6 separate regions of the Homo sapiens genome follow, and all the other regions are linked to region 1. The links are contacts of gene promoters, found by promoter capture Hi-C in human tissues and cell types (Jung and others, 2019). All regions are on one chromosome and are shown on one strand. The core of a region is centred on a gene start or on the middle of the fragment in contact, and the rest is flanking DNA. Distances in the headings are between cores, read along the strand shown. Region 1 holds the start of GUCA2B (guanylate cyclase activator 2B). Region 2 overlaps HIVEP3 (HIVEP zinc finger 3). Region 3 overlaps CCDC30 (coiled-coil domain containing 30). Region 4 overlaps CCDC30 (coiled-coil domain containing 30). Region 5 overlaps CCDC30 (coiled-coil domain containing 30). Region 6 overlaps HIVEP3 (HIVEP zinc finger 3).

Evidence for each region. Contacts are between HindIII fragments. The study calls those that stand out against the background at their distance.
Region 2: a fragment that was not itself captured here is called in contact with the fragment with the promoter of GUCA2B in region 1 in 1 of the 25 tissues and cell types used here (dorsolateral prefrontal cortex).
Region 3: a contact is called between a fragment that was not itself captured here and the fragment with the promoter of GUCA2B in region 1, in 1 of the 25 tissues and cell types used here (hippocampus).
Region 4: a fragment that was not itself captured here is called in contact with the fragment with the promoter of GUCA2B in region 1 in 1 of the 25 tissues and cell types used here (aorta).
Region 5: a contact is called between a fragment that was not itself captured here and the fragment with the promoter of GUCA2B in region 1, in 2 of the 25 tissues and cell types used here (bladder and heart right ventricle).
Region 6: a fragment that was not itself captured here is called in contact with the fragment with the promoter of GUCA2B in region 1 in 2 of the 25 tissues and cell types used here (hippocampus and pancreas).

The regions. Positions count from the first base shown.
Region 1 is chr1:42,152,077-42,154,796 of GRCh38, reverse strand. It overlaps GUCA2B (guanylate cyclase activator 2B), which reads right to left and starts at 1,387. Exons shown (of 3, transcript NM_007102.3): 1 at 1,257-1,387; 2 at 1-117. The coding sequence starts at 1,346. The HindIII fragment of the contact is 15,047 bases long and covers 1-2,720 here.
Region 2 is chr1:41,663,831-41,666,550 of GRCh38, reverse strand. All of the region lies in intron 2 of HIVEP3 (HIVEP zinc finger 3), which reads left to right. Among named protein-coding and RNA genes, the nearest start is that of EDN2, 180 kb to the right of the region's middle. The HindIII fragment of the contact is 4,895 bases long and covers 1-2,720 here.
Region 3 is chr1:42,628,111-42,630,830 of GRCh38, reverse strand. The region is part of intron 15 of CCDC30 (coiled-coil domain containing 30); the gene reads right to left. All of the region lies in intron 1 of LOC124904162 (a long non-coding RNA gene), which reads left to right. Among named protein-coding and RNA genes, the nearest start is that of PPIH, 29 kb to the left of the region's middle. The HindIII fragment of the contact is 3,401 bases long and covers 1-2,720 here.
Region 4 is chr1:42,587,920-42,590,639 of GRCh38, reverse strand. It overlaps CCDC30 (coiled-coil domain containing 30), which reads right to left. Exons shown (of 21, transcript NM_001395517.1): 14 at 1,157-1,319. All of the region lies in intron 1 of LOC124904162 (a long non-coding RNA gene), which reads left to right. Among named protein-coding and RNA genes, the nearest start is that of PPIH, 69 kb to the left of the region's middle. The HindIII fragment of the contact is 4,504 bases long and covers 1-2,720 here.
Region 5 is chr1:42,472,332-42,475,051 of GRCh38, reverse strand. All of the region lies in intron 1 of CCDC30 (coiled-coil domain containing 30), which reads right to left. It also overlaps a transcript of PPCS not described here. Among named protein-coding and RNA genes, the nearest start is that of CCDC30, 10 kb to the right of the region's middle. The HindIII fragment of the contact is 4,715 bases long and covers 1-2,720 here.
Region 6 is chr1:41,860,763-41,863,482 of GRCh38, reverse strand. All of the region lies in intron 1 of HIVEP3 (HIVEP zinc finger 3), which reads left to right. Among named protein-coding and RNA genes, the nearest start is that of HIVEP3, 57 kb to the left of the region's middle. The HindIII fragment of the contact is 5,281 bases long and covers 1-2,720 here.

The DNA.
Region 1 (2,720 bases), core at 138-2,637:
GTGGTGGCACACGGCGGGCAGGAGGCTCTGGGCCTGCAGGCGGGGGCTGGGTGCCCACTGTGCCTCCAGGTCACTCAGCTTCTTCATGGATTCCAGCTGGACCCGGAAGCCTTGGTACTACAGACAGGGGAGAGGAGATAGGAGCAGGTCAAGACCTGGTCCAGGGGCAGGCACTGCCATGACACCCAGGGTTGCTCAAACCCTGCAGATCCTCCAGAGCCTTCCCCGTCTCTATGGGAAGTCCAGGGCCACACTGGAAAGAGCCGCTGCGGTGAGAGGTGTGAGGAAGAAGCAGCGGGGCTGTGGAGCACAGTGGTTCGAGGCTTTAGAGACAGACAAGCCCTGGTTCAAATCCCACCTCTGCCCATGACCGGCTGCCTGTCTGTTCCCCACTCAGCCTCAGTTCCCTCATCTGACATCTCCCGTGGGGGCCTGGTACCAGGGCACAATCACTAACTGAGTACGCCTGCCTGAGCTCACATGGCAGAGTGATGGCAGCCCCAAGTAGCTGGTCTCTGAGGCCAGGGCTGTTGGGGAGGCCAAGTCTCCTGCACCCCTCTCTGGGACCCACTTTGTTCTTCCCAAGGAGACCATGCCCAGAGTCAGGGATGTGACACCCAGGGCCACAGACGTCTCTGCTATGCTGGGCGAGGCCAGCAGCATCCCCTGTGACGTGGCAGACAGGCCCTGCTGTGACGACTACTGCCACTCTCCCATGCCCCCTGGAAGGGCACTGGAACCCCCATAGTCTTCTATCTGGTCTTTGCACATGCTGTGCCCCTTGGCCTGGAACAGTTTCCCCATCATCTGTGTCTGGCAACCTCCTGTTCATCTTGCAATGCCAGCTCAAGGGTTACTTCTCAGGAAAATTTTTCTGGAGCCTGTCCTCCTCCACCTACATGTGGGTGAATATACGGAACTGTGGGAGCATAACAGGGTGTCTCCTTCCCTTTCTGGCCTCCTCCCATGCAAGGAGGAGCCTTCTGTTCCACACCCTGACCTCTGTGACCAGCACGGGCCTTTGAGGGGAGCAGCGCTGAATCAGTTTGGTGTTGTCATTGCCATCATCACTGCCATCAACATCTGGCTGCCCCCACCCACCAGCTGCCTTGGTCTCTGGGCTGTGATGGGTGTTGGGCTGAGCCCCGGGCCCCGTGCTCCCCCGGTGCCCCTCTGAATTCCCAGTACACCCTCTCCAGCCTAGCCTCCCACCATGGGGCCCTTCAGGCAAAGGGAACGCTGGCCAAGGGACTCACCTGGATGTAGACTGACTGTGTGCTCTGCAGCAGCAGCAGGAGGACCACGGCCACTCCTGGCAGGAGCCCTGATGCAGCCCTGCAGCCCATCGCGCTCCCTGGGTTCCCCCTGCCGCTGTCCACCGTCTCCCATCTGTGTCCCTGCCTAGCACCTCCTTATAGGTCAGGCTCAGGAGTCCTGGTCACTCATTAACTGGCCAGCTGGGGTGGGGTTGACAGCTAGCTGGCTCTCTGACAAGCCGGGGCTGGTTCCTAGGAAGGGGGTTGGGGGCGAGGAGGGCAGGAGCCCAGAGTCTATGGGAACACAGTGCTTGAACACCGAGTGCCTGCCATGTGCCGGGCTCTCCATGGGGGCCTTGGAGCACACCATCATTCACTCCTCAAGACACCTGTGTGGGTGTGATGACGGGGAGGCCATTTTACAGACAGGAAAAGTGAGGCTCAGGAGGGAGGGTGGCTTTCCCCAGGTCACGGAGCTAGTTAATGTCAGAGAAGGGGCTCCAGCCAGGTGTCCTTGGCCCAGGTCAGCCCATGGTCCTTTCTCTGGGGGAAGGATACAGACAGAGAGGCTGGTCCAGGGCAAAGTGGGCAGACACTGCTGATTTCAGGGTTCTCAAGACCCCACTCCCCCAAGACCCACATCTCTCTCACTCCCTCTCCTCAGTGCTATTTAACGACTATCTTTCAGACCAGTCCTGGCCCCACGTTTTGAACCTGCCTCTGCTTGCCATCTCCCACCTGTGCCTGGGTGCTTCAGGCCATGTTTGACCCATCTCACCTGTCTGTGCTTTCAGAAGCCAATAGCCTAATCCAGCATGGAGGAAAAGGCAGTAGTGTTGGAGGCAGATTGACCCGCATTCAAATCCTAGTCCTGCTGCAGCTGTGTGATTTAGGATACGTCACATCAATTCTAATGGAATCTTAGTTTTCTCTTCCATCAAATGGGCATGATACAACCCCTCTCGTAAGGTTGCTGTGAGGGCCCCGGCCCACCTGAGGTTGCCCTTATCTCCTGGGTAATGCATCCATAGCAGCCCCTGAATCTTACAGTTGCCTTCTAGGCAATGCATAACCTACTGCCCCAGTGGTTGAAGGTTGGGTCAGAGAGAAGAGGGCAAAGTCTCTAAGGGTGATATCACCACTGCCATACCAGGCAGCTGTAAACAGTGCGTGTGCCAGGGCTCAGCTCTGCCAGGCACAGACTCTGGCATGTGGCAGGCTCCCCTGACATTGAGCCTGAACGTTGGATTGAAGCCCTGATAGCTCACCTTGGCATTTAAGATGCCACTCCCAAAAGTGGCTAAAATCTGATGTCATCGTGCTTCCCCATACCAACCCTATTTGCACAGGTCTAATCCCATCTCATGTCTTTGCCTACTCATTCCACCTGCCTGAAATGCCATCTTCCTTTTTCTTATCTCAGACTGAAATGAAGAAGAAGCTCAAGTGAACTTTGGAATTTCT
Region 2 (2,720 bases), core at 140-2,639, 490 kb after region 1:
TGCTACTGTTTATTGAGCACCTACTATTTTGTACACTGAAGAGTTCTATTGCAGTGTCTTGTCAAAACTTCCCAGCAGCCCTTGGAGATGAGAACGTCAAGATCAGTGACATCAAGTAACATGCCCAAGGTGACACAGTAAATGTGGGGCTGGAGCCTGAACCCAGGTCTATGTGGCTCCAAGGCCCATGCTGTTATCCACAGCATCAAGTTAAGTCAGGAAGCTGGAAACACAGTTCTCAGGCTGGAGAGAAAGGATGGGAACTGAGTCTGGAGGACTGGACCTCAGGAAGGTGATATCCATAAAATGCAAACTCTAGTCTCTGTCCCAGGACAGAAGCTTCATGTGTGCAACAGGTCTATGAAGAGAGCACCTACCATACATGTGCACATGCACACACACACACATACACACACACACACACACACGCACACACACCCCAAACAGGAAAACAACCAAAGCATCTGAGTCCAGGAAAGCACAGCAATGGGGATGGAGGATGGAGAGGGGATGGTTGCTAAGTCAGTGTAAGACCTAAACATAAATAACCCAGAAGGCCCACAGGGCCTGGTTGCTCAGCCCCACCCCACCTTAAAAGTGCTCCCAACACACTGTGCTGGTCCCTAGCTCCTTGGGAGCAACAGTGGGTTCCAAAATTGTGTCTAATTTTGTTGTTATAAGCTGGAAACAAAATTCCATAGAGATAGCTTTCTAGATGGCAGATCAGATGCCAAACCTGCCCTCTGCTCTAATCTCTTTTAGCTTGTAAAGTCTCTACAGTGTGATGCTGGCTTTACAGCAGATCCAGACTGTGTGTGTGTGTGTGTGTGTGTGTGTGTGTGTATAACATTTCCGTGGAAACAAGCATTCAGCATTCTAGCCCGGGACACCTGGATCACAGTTTTCTTGAATTGTAGCTCCAGAAGTAGAATGAATCTTATCTTTCCATCTTGTATGCCCCTACTCCACCCCTCTCCAACCTTGTCAAACAGCAGTGTAACATTTAGCAATGGGATATCTGTTTACCTGTCAGTCTCCATCCATGAACACAGGCTTGTGTATTACATGTTCCCAACACAGAAATGGTGCCTGATTCATGTTTGAGGAATGCAGGAATGTGGGAAGGCCCCCAGGGCCAAGTACTGGGACTTTCTCAAGACCTGGCCCAGTTACTTGCAGGGGATGGGGCTGATAGGAAGGAACTGGCACCTGGTACCACCTGCCTTTCAGATACATGGTGGGAAAGGTGTCCTGCACCTCAACTCTGCCTTTCTGCAGACTGGTGGAGGCCTGGTCTGCAGGTGGGGGCTCACAGAGTAGAGTCGAGGTCAGGCTGGTAGCCTCGAAGCAGGGCTGTCTGCCCCCACCTTCTTTCTCTGAGCTCTGAGGCTGGAGTCCTGAAGACCTTCTGGCTTCCAGTGAGAATTGGCACCAGAACTGAGGTGGGGGCTGAGTCTTGAAGTGGGGACAGATGGTTGTGGGAGGAGCTAGGTGAGGGCTCCCCAGCTGACACTCCTGGCCTGGGGAATGACTACCGCTGGAAAGGCCTGCATGGCTTGGAAGGCTCAGGGGCATCCAGTCTGACTGTGTCTGGTACAATGAAAGGGCTTGACAAATTGCATTTTCCTTCATCCTTCCCCTCCACCTCATTAGGGCCAGCTCAGGACTCCGTGTTTTGGGGGGTTGGCATGGGGATATCCCAGGCTCCCTGATGGCTGCAGAGGAGTTTGTCAAGAGAAAGGAGGAGACAAATCCCAAGCCATCCCAGTCTCCTGAGCATTCAAGCCAGTCTAGCTGAGAACCCCGCCTTTCATCCCAGCCCCCAGCCAGGGACCCTAGGACATCAGCCACTGTTCTGGGTTGGGTAAATTCTCCCCCGTCCTCTGGTTAGTTTGTCTTAGGATTTGCCCCTCAGGACCATTCATTCACTTAACAAACATTTGTAAACTTATCAGTCCTGGGAGGGGAGAGGGATCAAGATGGAAAGTTCCCTGAAGCTCCCAGTCTGAGGAAGAGGAGGCCCCCAATAACTGACTTCAATGTGAGGTGATGGGCAAGTCTGTAGAGGCAGGAACTATTGAGTTGCCTGTGGCATCATGGAAGGTGACCAAATCCATTGGGAGGGTCCCTTGAGGCCAGGCCACCTCTCAAAGGGGAGGAGGATGTCATTCAACTTGGGGCAGGAGCAAGGCTGTCATCTGAGCCTGTGTGTGTGAATGATAGAAAGTCACCCCTCAGGGCATATGAATTATAACAAGGCACCCACCTCCTCTGCCTGGAGTTGCTTTCAGACAGAAAACGGGAAGCAGGACAGTGGGGGCAGGGCAGGAGTGGAGTGAGGAGCAGGAATCTGTCCCAGGGGGCACCCCACCCCAGTTGCCCTGCTCAAGAGAAGGACCTGTATCAAGGGCAGGCTTGGATTCAGGGTGTGAAGGACAGCTGGAGGGGGTGGAGAAGACATTTCAAAGGGAAAGCCTGTATGAAGACCTCAAGAAGTGGAAACTGGTGCAAAGTGGTGCGTGTTGGGGGTGGTGGCTGGGCAAATGGCAGGATGGGCTGAGCTCTGGGAGATGCAGCTGGTCCGTGGGGCCTTGCATGCCAGATCAGGAAGTGTGGTCCTTCCCTTTGGGGCTTTGTCAGAAGGAGGATGACCCAATTAGAGCTGGGATTGGGCCCTGGGAGCTGATGGAAGTTGAGAGAGACTGGGGTGGTGGTGATCC
Region 3 (2,720 bases), core at 163-2,662, 480 kb before region 1:
ATTGAAATAATTAAAAAGAATCAAGAGGAAATTCTGGAGCTGAAAAATGCAATAGGCATACTGCAGAATGCATTAGAGTCATTTAATAGCAGAATTGATCAAGCAGAAGAATTAGTAAACTTGAAGATAGACTATTTGAAAATACACAGGGCCAGGTGCGGTGGCTCACGCCTGTAATCCCAGTACTTGGGGAGGCCAAGGCAGGCAGGTCACCTGAGGTCAGGAGTTCGAGAACAGCCTGGCCAACATGGCAAAACCCTGTCTCTACTAAAAATACAAAAATAGCTAGGTGTGGTGGCACGCACCTATAATTCCAGCTACTCAGGAGGTCGAGGTAGGATAATTGCTTGAACCTGGGAGGCAGAGGTTGCAGTGAGCTGAGTTCATGCCATTGCACTCCAACCTGGGCAACAGAGCGAGACTCCATCTGAAAAAAAAAAAGAAAAAAAGAAAAAGAAAAGTAAATACAAAAGCAGAGGAGACAAAAGACAAAAGGAATAAAAAAGAATGAAGCACACCTACAGGATTTGGAAAATAGCCTCAAAAGGGCAAATCTAGCCAGGAACAGTGGCTCACGCCTGTAATCCCAACACTTTCGGAGGCCAAAGTGGGCAGATCACCTGAAGTCAGGCATTCACAACCAGCCTGGCCAACATGGTGAAACCCCATCTCTACTAAAAATACAAAAATTAGCTGGGTGTAGTGGTACATGCCTGTAATTCCAGCTACTTGGGAGGCTGAGGCAGGAGAATCGCTTGAACCCGGGAGCTAGAGGTTGCAGTTAGCTGAGATTGCGGCACTGCACTCCAGCATGGGCAACAGAGCCAGACTTCATCTCAAAAAAAAAAAAAAAAAAAAAAATAGGGGGACATATCTAAGAGTTATTGGCCTTAAAGAGCGTGTAGGAAAAGACACAGGGGCCCATGCAGCGGCTCACGCCCGTAATCCCAGCACTTTGGGAGGCTGAGGCCGACGGATCACGAGGTCAGGAGTTCAAGACCAGCCGGGCCAATATGGTGAAACCCCATGTCTACTAAAAATACAAAAATTAGCTGGGTGTGGTGGCACACACTTGGGAGGCTGAGGCAGAAGAATTGCTTGAACCCGGGAGGCAGAGGTTGCAGTGAGCCGAGATCGTGCCACTGCACTCCAGCCTGGGTGACAGAGTGAGACTCCGTCTCAAAAAAAAAAAGAAAAGAAAAAGAAAAAGAAATAGGAGTAGGAAGTTTATTCAAGGGGATAATAGCAGATAACTTCCCAAACCTAGAGAAAGATATCAATATCCAAGTACAAGAAGGTTATAGAACAACAAGAAGATTTAACCCAAAGATTACCTCAAGACATTTAATAATCAAACTTCCAAAGGTCAAAAATAAAAGATACTAAAAGCAGCAAGAGAAAAGAAACAAATTACATATAATAGAACTCCAATATGTCTGGCAGCAGACTTTTCAGTGGAAACCTTACAGGCCACGAGAGAGTGGCATGACATATTTAAAGTGCTGAAGGAAAAAACTTTTACCCTAGAATAGTATATCCAGTGAAAATATCCTTCAAGCATGAAGGGGAAATAAATACTTTCCCAGACAAACAAAGCTGAAGGATTTCATCAACACTGGTTCTGTCCTACAAGAAAAGCTAAAGGGAGTACTTCAATCAGAAAGCAAAGGACGTTAATGACTAATAAGAAATCTTCTGAAGGTATAAGACTCACTGGTAATAGTAAATACATAGAAAACCACAAAATATAACACTGTAACTGTAGTGTGTAAACTACTCTTAAGTAGAAAGACTAAACAATAAACCAATAAAAAATAATGACTACAACAATTTTCAAGACATAGTACAATAAGATATAAACAGAAACAAGTAAAAGTTTAAAAGTGGAGGGATGAAGTTAGGGTATAGAGTATTAGTTTTCTTTTTCCTTCTTTGTTTATGCAAACCATATTAAGTTGTAATCACGTTAAAATAATTAGCTATAAGATAGTGTATTAGTTTGCTTTCAAGCTGCTGATAAATACATACTCAAAACTGGGAACAAAAAGAGGTTTAATTGGACTTACAGTTCCACATGGCTGGGGAGGCCTCAGAATCATGGTGGGAGGTGAAAAGCACTTCTTACACGGCAGTGGCAAGAGAAAATGGGGAAGAGGCAAAAGCAGCAACCTCTGATAAACCCATCAGATCTCATGAGACTTAGTCACTATCACGAGAATAGCACAGGAAAGACTGGCCCCCATGATTCAATTACCTCCCCCTGGGTCCCTTGCACAACATGTGGGAATTTTGGGAGACAAAATTCAAGATAAGATTTGGGTGGGGACAAAGCCAAACCATATCATTCTGCCCCGGCCCCTCCAAATCTCATGTCCTCACATTTCAAAACCAATCATGCTTTGCCAACAGTCCCCAAAAGTCTTCATTCATTTCAGCATTAACCCAAAAGTCCACAGTTCAAAGTGTCATCGGAAACAAGGCAAGTCCCTTCTGCCTATGAGCCTGTAAAATCAAAAGCAAGCTAGTTACTTTCTAGATACAATGGGGGTACAGGTATTGGGTAACTACAGCATTCCAAATGGGAGAAATTAGCTAAAACAAAGGGGTTACAGGGCCCAGGCAAGTCTGAAATCCAGTGAGGCAGTCAATTTTAAAGCTCCAAAATGATCTCCTGTGACTCCAGGTCTCACATCCAGGTCACACTGATGCAAAAAGTGGGT
Region 4 (2,720 bases), core at 97-2,596, 440 kb before region 1:
TCAGCCTCCTGAGTAGCTGGTACTACAGGTCCATGCCACCATATCTGGCTAATTATTTTTTTGTTGAGACAAGGGCTCACTATGTTGCCCAGGCTGGTCTTGAACTCCTGGCCTCAAGCAATCCTCCTACCTCAGCCTCTCAAGCGCTGGGATTACAGTTGTGAGCCACTGCTCCTGGTCCTCCTGCCTTCTTCTGAGCCCTCCAAACTCTTCCAATCTCTGCCTGTTACCCAGTTCCAAACTTGCTTCCACATTTTCAGGTATCTTTTTTAGTAACGCTCCGCTTCTTGGTACCAATTTTCTGTGTCAAGCTGTTCTTGCACTGCTATAAAGAAATACCCGAGACTGGGTAATTTATAAAGAAAAGAAGTTTAATTGGCTTACAGATATGCAGACTATACAGGAAGCATGGTATCGGCATCTGGTCAGCTTCTGGTGAGGGACTCAGGAAGCTAACAATCATGGTGGTAGGTGAAATGGGAGCAGACATGTCACACGGTGATAGTGGGAGCAAGAGAGAGCGGAGAGGTGCCACACACTTTTAAACATCTAGATCTCGCAATAATTCATTATCGTGAGGACAGCATCAAGCCATTTATGAGGGACCCACCCCCATGACAAAACCACCTCCTGTTAAGCCCCACCTCCAATGATGGGGATTACATTTCAGCAAGAGATTTGGAGAGGAGAATCATCCAAACTATATCAGAAGTGAAGTATTCAGAGTGGTACGAGTATAGAAAGAAGAAACAGGTTTGTTTGTCTTTCCCCCCAACAGTTCTTTAGCACTAGCAGATGGATAAAAGGGCAGACAACAGATGAGACATTTGTAGGAGCTTCAGGACAGTTCCTGCAAATTCTCCACTTTGACGCTGCAGGAGGTGGCTTCTCTGTGATTTCTGAACTTCTGGATTTATTGAAAGCTAGCAGCAGTCCTTTCTGACTCTACTCTCCCCTGGTCCCTTCCAACTGTTTTGTAAGCTCTTATTCCCTGTGTTAAATCTCTTCTTGCTTGAAATACCTAGAGTAGATTCTACTTTCCTGACTGAACCCTGACTAAAGGATTAGGTTTAGTAAAGTGCTAGGCACTCAATAATAATTAGCTGTTACTAATGGGAATAGGAAAACTGAGAAGCATGTCTATTTACTTTCTTACCTCATCATATTTTCTTTTTTCATTTTCCAGTTGTTTAAGTAGGGCCTCTTGTTGCTGAATTCTGGATTGTTGCTGAGAACAGGTCATTTCCAGTAGATTTTCTTTATCTTGTAAGGTTCTCACTTGCCTGTGTAACTCATCTACGTTCTGATATAGAAGTTTCCTGAGGGCAATTAATGTAGATTAAATCACACCATGAATTGCAAATGAAATTCAGACCTAAAATTTTTATGGCATCACAAGGGATTTTTTTTTTTTTTGGTTCAATGAAGTAGGGTATGTGTCTATAAGCTAAAGGGACCAACACAGGGAACCTCTTTTGTGATAGAAGCTTTCCTTACTTCTCTCACTCACTCATCAAAATGACCCTATGAGGAAAAAGTAGTTGTCCTTATTTCAGAGATGAGGAAGTTGTGGTAGAGAGAACAGTTAAGACAAAGTGGAGGTAGGGCTCGAATCCTGAATCCCATATTCTTTCTTCCTTACTGCTTTACGAGTTGAGCCCTTCATCTTCTGGGTTCAAGGTAATGTTAGTTACAAGCACTATTGATAATAATAAGCACACATTAACACTGCTATAAATGAATCATAAATGAGCCTGCATTTTATGAGAAAATTTACCATTTTCCAAAAGAGGGTAAAGGAACTCACAGAATTTTACCTCAAATATGGTATCCTGGTATACTAAATATTTTGAATGAAAGGCCCTTAGAGATCAGCAGATGCTAGAAGAGGCTTTTCTCTTATCTGCGTGAAGACTGGACTTACCAAGGAGAACAATTATACCCATCCCCTCCCTGAAACTGCATTATTTATGGATCTTCAGAAAAGAAGATTGAGGAATATAACAACACCTCCACAGACCTTTTCACAAGACAATGGCTATCTCTTAAACTCATTCAAATTCCCAGGTAAATAATTTATGAATTAATTTTTGTCTCCAGGGTCCCTTCACTCTCCCTAATGAGTTACTGTCCCTTGGAATTCTCTACATTCCTCATCTCCCTCTCCCCTGGAAATGGGTATATAAGCTTCTGCAACACACTTAGACACTGGGTCATCACACTTGATTTTCCCCACCCCACGTTAATAAAATTGTGTTTGCTTTTTCTCCTATTAATCTGTCTTTTGTCAGTTGACTTTTCAGAAAACCTTCAGAAGGGGAGGGGAAATTTTCCCTCCACCCCTACAAGGGCCATTAGCACTCTTTCAGTCTCATCATGAAACCAGCCCAACTGTCCCACAGAAATTACACTTACAGTTTTTTAAACAAATGTAGAAATGTACCCTCCCAGTCTTAAAACTTGAAATTTATATCTGAGTTCCTCCCTCAGGAGACTGACCCTCAGGCAAGAAACTAAAATTCACCAGATCGTAGCATACAGAAAATGAGATGCCTCATTCCTCATGATTGGTTCCTTACCCCTCACTAATTCCTGTTTTACATTCCTTCCCTGCTATAACCCCCCAAATTTTAGTTGGTCAGGGAGATAGATTTGAGACTGATCTCCCATTCTCCTCAACTGCGGCACCCTAATAAAGCCTTTTTCCCTGGCAATACTCA
Region 5 (2,720 bases), core at 156-2,655, 320 kb before region 1:
GTGGTTTAGGAAATATGGTCATGATATCCATGAACAGAAAAAAATCTACATAATAATTAGGTTTATACTGCTATGCTGAAACTGATGGCTAAGATGATTAAATGTTAACAGGAGATTACATTAAAAATTGTTGTGTATTCTTTGAAAAGCTTGCAGTTAATATAACGGCTTCACAAAAAGCTACTTTTATGTGCATAATAACAGGTAGAAAGCGAATATGCTCCAGGCACTATATTAAGTACATCAAATATTTAATTGTCTCCACAACCACATGGGACTATTATTCTCCCACTTTGGAGGTGAAGAAGCAGGCTTAGAGAGGCTAAGAGACTTGCCTTGTCACATAGGGAATAAGGGGAGGAGCTAGAATTCATACTCTGATGGGTAGAAACCAGAGACTGAGTTCTTAGTACGCCAAAGTGCTTAGAAGTAGACTACCGAAATAACTGAATTGCATTTTGGTGAATTCTTTGGAAGCCTATAGGAAAACTCCTTAAAATATGTACAGAAAGATGAATAGTATAGAAGGAACATAGGAATCACAGTTCAACTTTATCACTTCCTGGCAAACTTTCGTTTCCTCTTTAAAATGGCAGGAACAATATCCATTTCTAATGATAATAGCTATCATTTATTGAACACTTGCTAGGTGCCAAGTACATGGGTAATTTATACACACTAACCTGTATAAATCTCACAAATCCCTTTGAAGATGCTATTAACATCTCTATCTTACAGACAGAAATTTCAAGCTCAAAGCAGTTGAGTAACTTGCCCAGAGTTAAACAGAAAGATAATGCTAAAGGCAACTTTTCACCCCCATCTGCCTAATGTTAAAGTTCACACTCTATGATGCTATACTGCTTTTCATTCTAAAGGAGCTGCATTCTTCTTTAGAATTTGGAGATTGGATTGTCCTTTAAGAATTAAATTTAAAAATGTTACCTGTGTGAAGCTGAGATGTGAAAACATAGCAGAGTGATTCCCAGGCAACCTGAGATAATTCATTAGTTCATTTAAAGAAAGTATGTTGATGAGTATTGGAAACATCCAAGAGAGTAACAATAGGGCCAAAAAAAAAATAGCTTTATCTACTCCTCTAAGCACTAGGTGCCTGGTCCTAGGATATGAGGTCCAGAAACGAGGGTAGATATAGATAGCCCTATTGTGGAAACCTGGCTATCTCAGCCAATGCTATAAAAAGTTAGAATCATTTGTTCACCAAGTAAACATCTAATTAAAAGTTGGCTTCCCACATAATGTGCCTGTAAGAGAATACATCAGCCACCAAAAATACATGTTTAGTTCCTCTGGCAATTATATTTCTTATTGTCAATTAAAAAGGAGGTGTCTCATCTCTATGACTTTGGTTAATACAAGCCCACCTTTGAGAAGCAGATCCACTGATACTATGCCGACATTAGTTTCCAAGCCTTCAAAAAAAAGAGTCACCTAGAAGGTCAGCTCCTGAGAGAAGGATGACTTTACCAAGATAATGAAAGCTACCTGGAGCAGTCCTGTTTAGATGTTCAGCCAGTCATCACTGGGCAACATCCTATACATGGAGTCTTAATGGAAACCAACACAGACTGTTGCCATGTTTCATTAGAAAAAAAAAAAGGTCTACACGTGGGTGCTTTTCAAACTATACAGTGATAGCCAAACATTAGTTTTTAATATGTCAATTTAATGAAGGGCAATGAACAAAATCACAGGTGTCTTTAAAATTCTATGCTATTAGTTCTCACTTCTTTTGTTTCACCCATGTGCTTCACTATAAGCTCTTCTACATCTGTGGTAGCAGTCCTCAGCCTGTCTTCACTGTGCTGGCTGGAATAAGCACCAAACAGAGTTGTTCTTCTGTAGTAGCAAGGGGATTGATTTCTTCTTTTTCAAGATGGTGAAGTATGTCTTCTAACTGAACTTTTCCCTTGATAGAAGAAATAAGCATATGTATATGAACACACACACACACACAACTGAGGATGCAAGATATCTATGTGGGTGCCACCTTAGTCTCCTTATTAGAGTACTAGTCTTTAGGGTACTAGCAATAGAAAGCTAGTAAGCTACCTGAACCTTCATCACACTTATGTATGTGTATGTATATATATCTTGGAAAATCCAAGATATTTCTAAAGAACAAAATATAGCTGGCAATACACATACAAAGCTGCTATGTGAGGAAAACTGAAAGCAGGAATAAAGAAGTCTATGTATATATGACTAGAGTCAGACTCTCTACAATGTATATTTTACTTTTCCTGTTGTTATCTAGTTATGAGCACTTAAATGAAACAGCTGGTAATACCGAAAAATGTAAGCTTTGAACAACTGTGTATCTTCTAAAATAACAAATGACATGATATACTTAATGAAAATTATGTACAATGGAAAAAAAAAAAGCTTTTCTGTCTGTTCTAAAGTTTGCAACTTTTATCTGAAAAGTCTCCCAAAGGGCTCTTGTTTCTTTTTTAAAGTCCAAAGAAGTCTTTGTTCCTTTTATTGCATATTTAGAAATAAAAGGATTCCTCTGGAAGCTAGAGAGGCCCCTAATTCTATACTATCCAGGATTTATTTTACTCACAGAATATGTCTTATAATTTATGTTGACTTCTCATTAATTCAGTTCTTTTCTGCAACTTCTTGGTCTAAGCCTGCTATCAATATCAATTTTTTTAGGTTGCAAGTAATCATGACATAACAGTTTGCAGTATGAC
Region 6 (2,720 bases), core at 65-2,564, 290 kb after region 1:
CCTCCCCTTTCCTTTCTTCTTTTGTCCCATTCCAAGAACCTATATTATTTTTGAGCCGGAGTTCAGATGTCTTCCTAGTTTAGTCAGGGTTGTCTAGGAAACTAGAAATAACTGCAGATTCCAGGCTCTACAGATCAGGTGATCCTTGGCTCCTCTCTTCAGAGCCATGTTAATTCCTGCCATCCTTTTCCAGCGTTCTCTGCTTTTTCCTGCCCTCACATTACTGGGATCACCCCCACCTTACGCAGTTTACTTTCAGCTCCCCAGCAGAAGCAGATCTGACCCTGCAGCTTAACTTCCCAGGAGGCAGTTGCTGGTAGCAGTCGATGCTGGGTGACATGTGCACAGATGACTCTGCGTCTGGGAACGTATGTGACAGTGGAGGAGGAACGCCTGTGAAATTCAACTTCTGTTTGACTCATCCTTGCCTTCCAGGAACTGGAGGAGGTGTGCATTTGAGACTGTTCAAGTCCATTTCACCTTAAGCATTGCTCTTGTGTGTGTGTGCATTCATTGTTTCCTTCCCTCCCGCTGCCATTCAGAATAACTGCAGCTGTGAGCCACTGCACTTGGGGTTACCATCTGAAAGGGAACCTGCTTATCTTCCGTCTATATCTGCCAAGTGAGAAAACTTGTCTCTACGTCAGTAAAGCTGGGCAGTGATGATATCCCTTGTTTTCAGGGATCTTTATCTGATTCCCTTGCCTGACTCCTAAAACCTAAGTCTCTGACCTGCCCTCCAATTCTCTTTTCACAACAAGCTGCCTGTCTTTGTCAAGATCTGTGGTCCACAGTCCTGTTGAATCTGTAGTTCATTTCTTAGACTCCCAGTGTGTCTAAAGAAATAGGAGGCAGGAGGCAAGCTTGGAGGGAATGGGAAATGTTGACAGCCATGCAGAAATGGATGGGGAGAGATGCATGCCAGGATGTTTGCAGTGGCTTGGGGGTGGAGGCAGAGGAGGTGCTGGGTGGCAAAGAGGAGGGAAAGAGAGGGGAGAGGGGAGGAGAAAAGAAAACAATGACTCAGTTCTTACACACTGAAGCATATGCATAAGTGTGAAAATAACTAAGCCCTACAGTATTTCAGCAGAAGGAAGGATTAGAGTTCTGGATTTCTGAGGATTTCTATCTTGTTCTCATGACTGCTCTTAGCTTATGGTCAGATAAATGTTAGGGGAGCATCAACGGAAGGAGCAAGAGAGGTGGAGAGGAGTGCAGAGCCCACACTTGTTGCTTATTTGTTTGGACAGACAGCCATTTCATTGGTGGATAAAACTTCACTTAACTTGTTAACTCCCCTTTGAAATGAGGAAGCATTGTCCGTAGCCTCGTGCTTCCAGTCAGTGCCACCTTTGGGTGGTCTGGCCTTTTTAAGTTCTTGTAAAGCTGCTCGAACCTGTGTCTTTATGTCTGACGATGCCACCTCCACCTCACATCCCCCAAGTTTTAAAATTCAGAACTGCCCCTGACTCATCCTTCATCCGCCCCCCGGCCAAATTTGTTTCCAAGCCCTTTAGATATTTGCTTTGTGGTATCTTCCAGATCTATTTCTTTCTCTCCCGTTGCCAACACCGTGGCCAGCCTGGTCTACACTGTAAAAGCTTTCTAATGTTCTCATCACCTCTCGTCTAGTCTGCATCCCCACAAAAAGCTAAAGTCTTGAAGTTTTTATTTAATTATGTTAATCTGCTGTTCACAAGTCTCCAACTGCTCCCTGCAGCTTATTGGAGAAAGCCCAAGCTTCTCTGTGTGGGATTCAGACCTCTCTGAAATCTGGCCTCCTTCCTTCCTATCAACGCTCTCATCTCTGCCTCCCTTGCACAAATCCTCCTCCCAGGGCTGGAAATGCAGGCAGCATGTGCAGGATGCAGAGCCTGTCTCATGCGGCGCTCACAGTCTCCCCACATCCCCAGAGGCCAGCTCACTTCTTAGCCACCTGCCTAAAATTTCCCCACCCTTCAAGGTAAACTCAATCCATTTTCCCATAAAGGCTGACCTGCATCCTCCTGAAAATGCCAGCTGCCCTCTTGGGCCTCTAGCAGAACACACTCCTGGATTCTTTGTGCCTTGATTTACCGTATTGCCAGCTACCATTGTGAATCTCATCTCCTTGGTTAAATCATAAGCCCTTAGAGTAGAGCAACTAGGTTTTTCTTTTTTCATTTCTTTTTTATAACCCTAGTGCTTGGCCTGGTGCAGTGTGCTCACAGGCCTCCATGAATTATTTTGGAGGAATTAAAGTGGACTTATCGGGCAAGCTACAAAGTGACTTTGTGTATTCAGCTATAACATGGTCCCCAGATGGAGCATGGTGTAGGAGTTTTATTTGGAGTCATTAGCCATTCTGCCCATACTGACGGACACAGGCAGTGCTATAGGCTGTGAATGGCACACAGCTTTTAACCACCACCCACCTCCAGTGCCCTGGCTCGAGTGTGCTGAGGGGCTGGCAGCAAGGCCTCTCCTCCCTCGTAGTTCGGGATTTTAATCACGTTGCCAAGAACCTAGTCCTGGCTTTGCCTCAATCTGATTCCACCTCCCTCCTGGAAGATGTTCTTCTTTTTGCTTTATTTTGGCTGCCAGTTTCGCTGCTCTGCTGCTTTCAGGTTTGTGTGCTTAAGGTGTGCCCACAGGAAAATTAGCCAGAATTCTAATTCCACGTGTGACTTCTTCGTTAGTGGAGTAATTTAAGAGATGTGAGTGTTCTGTTTCCAGCTGGC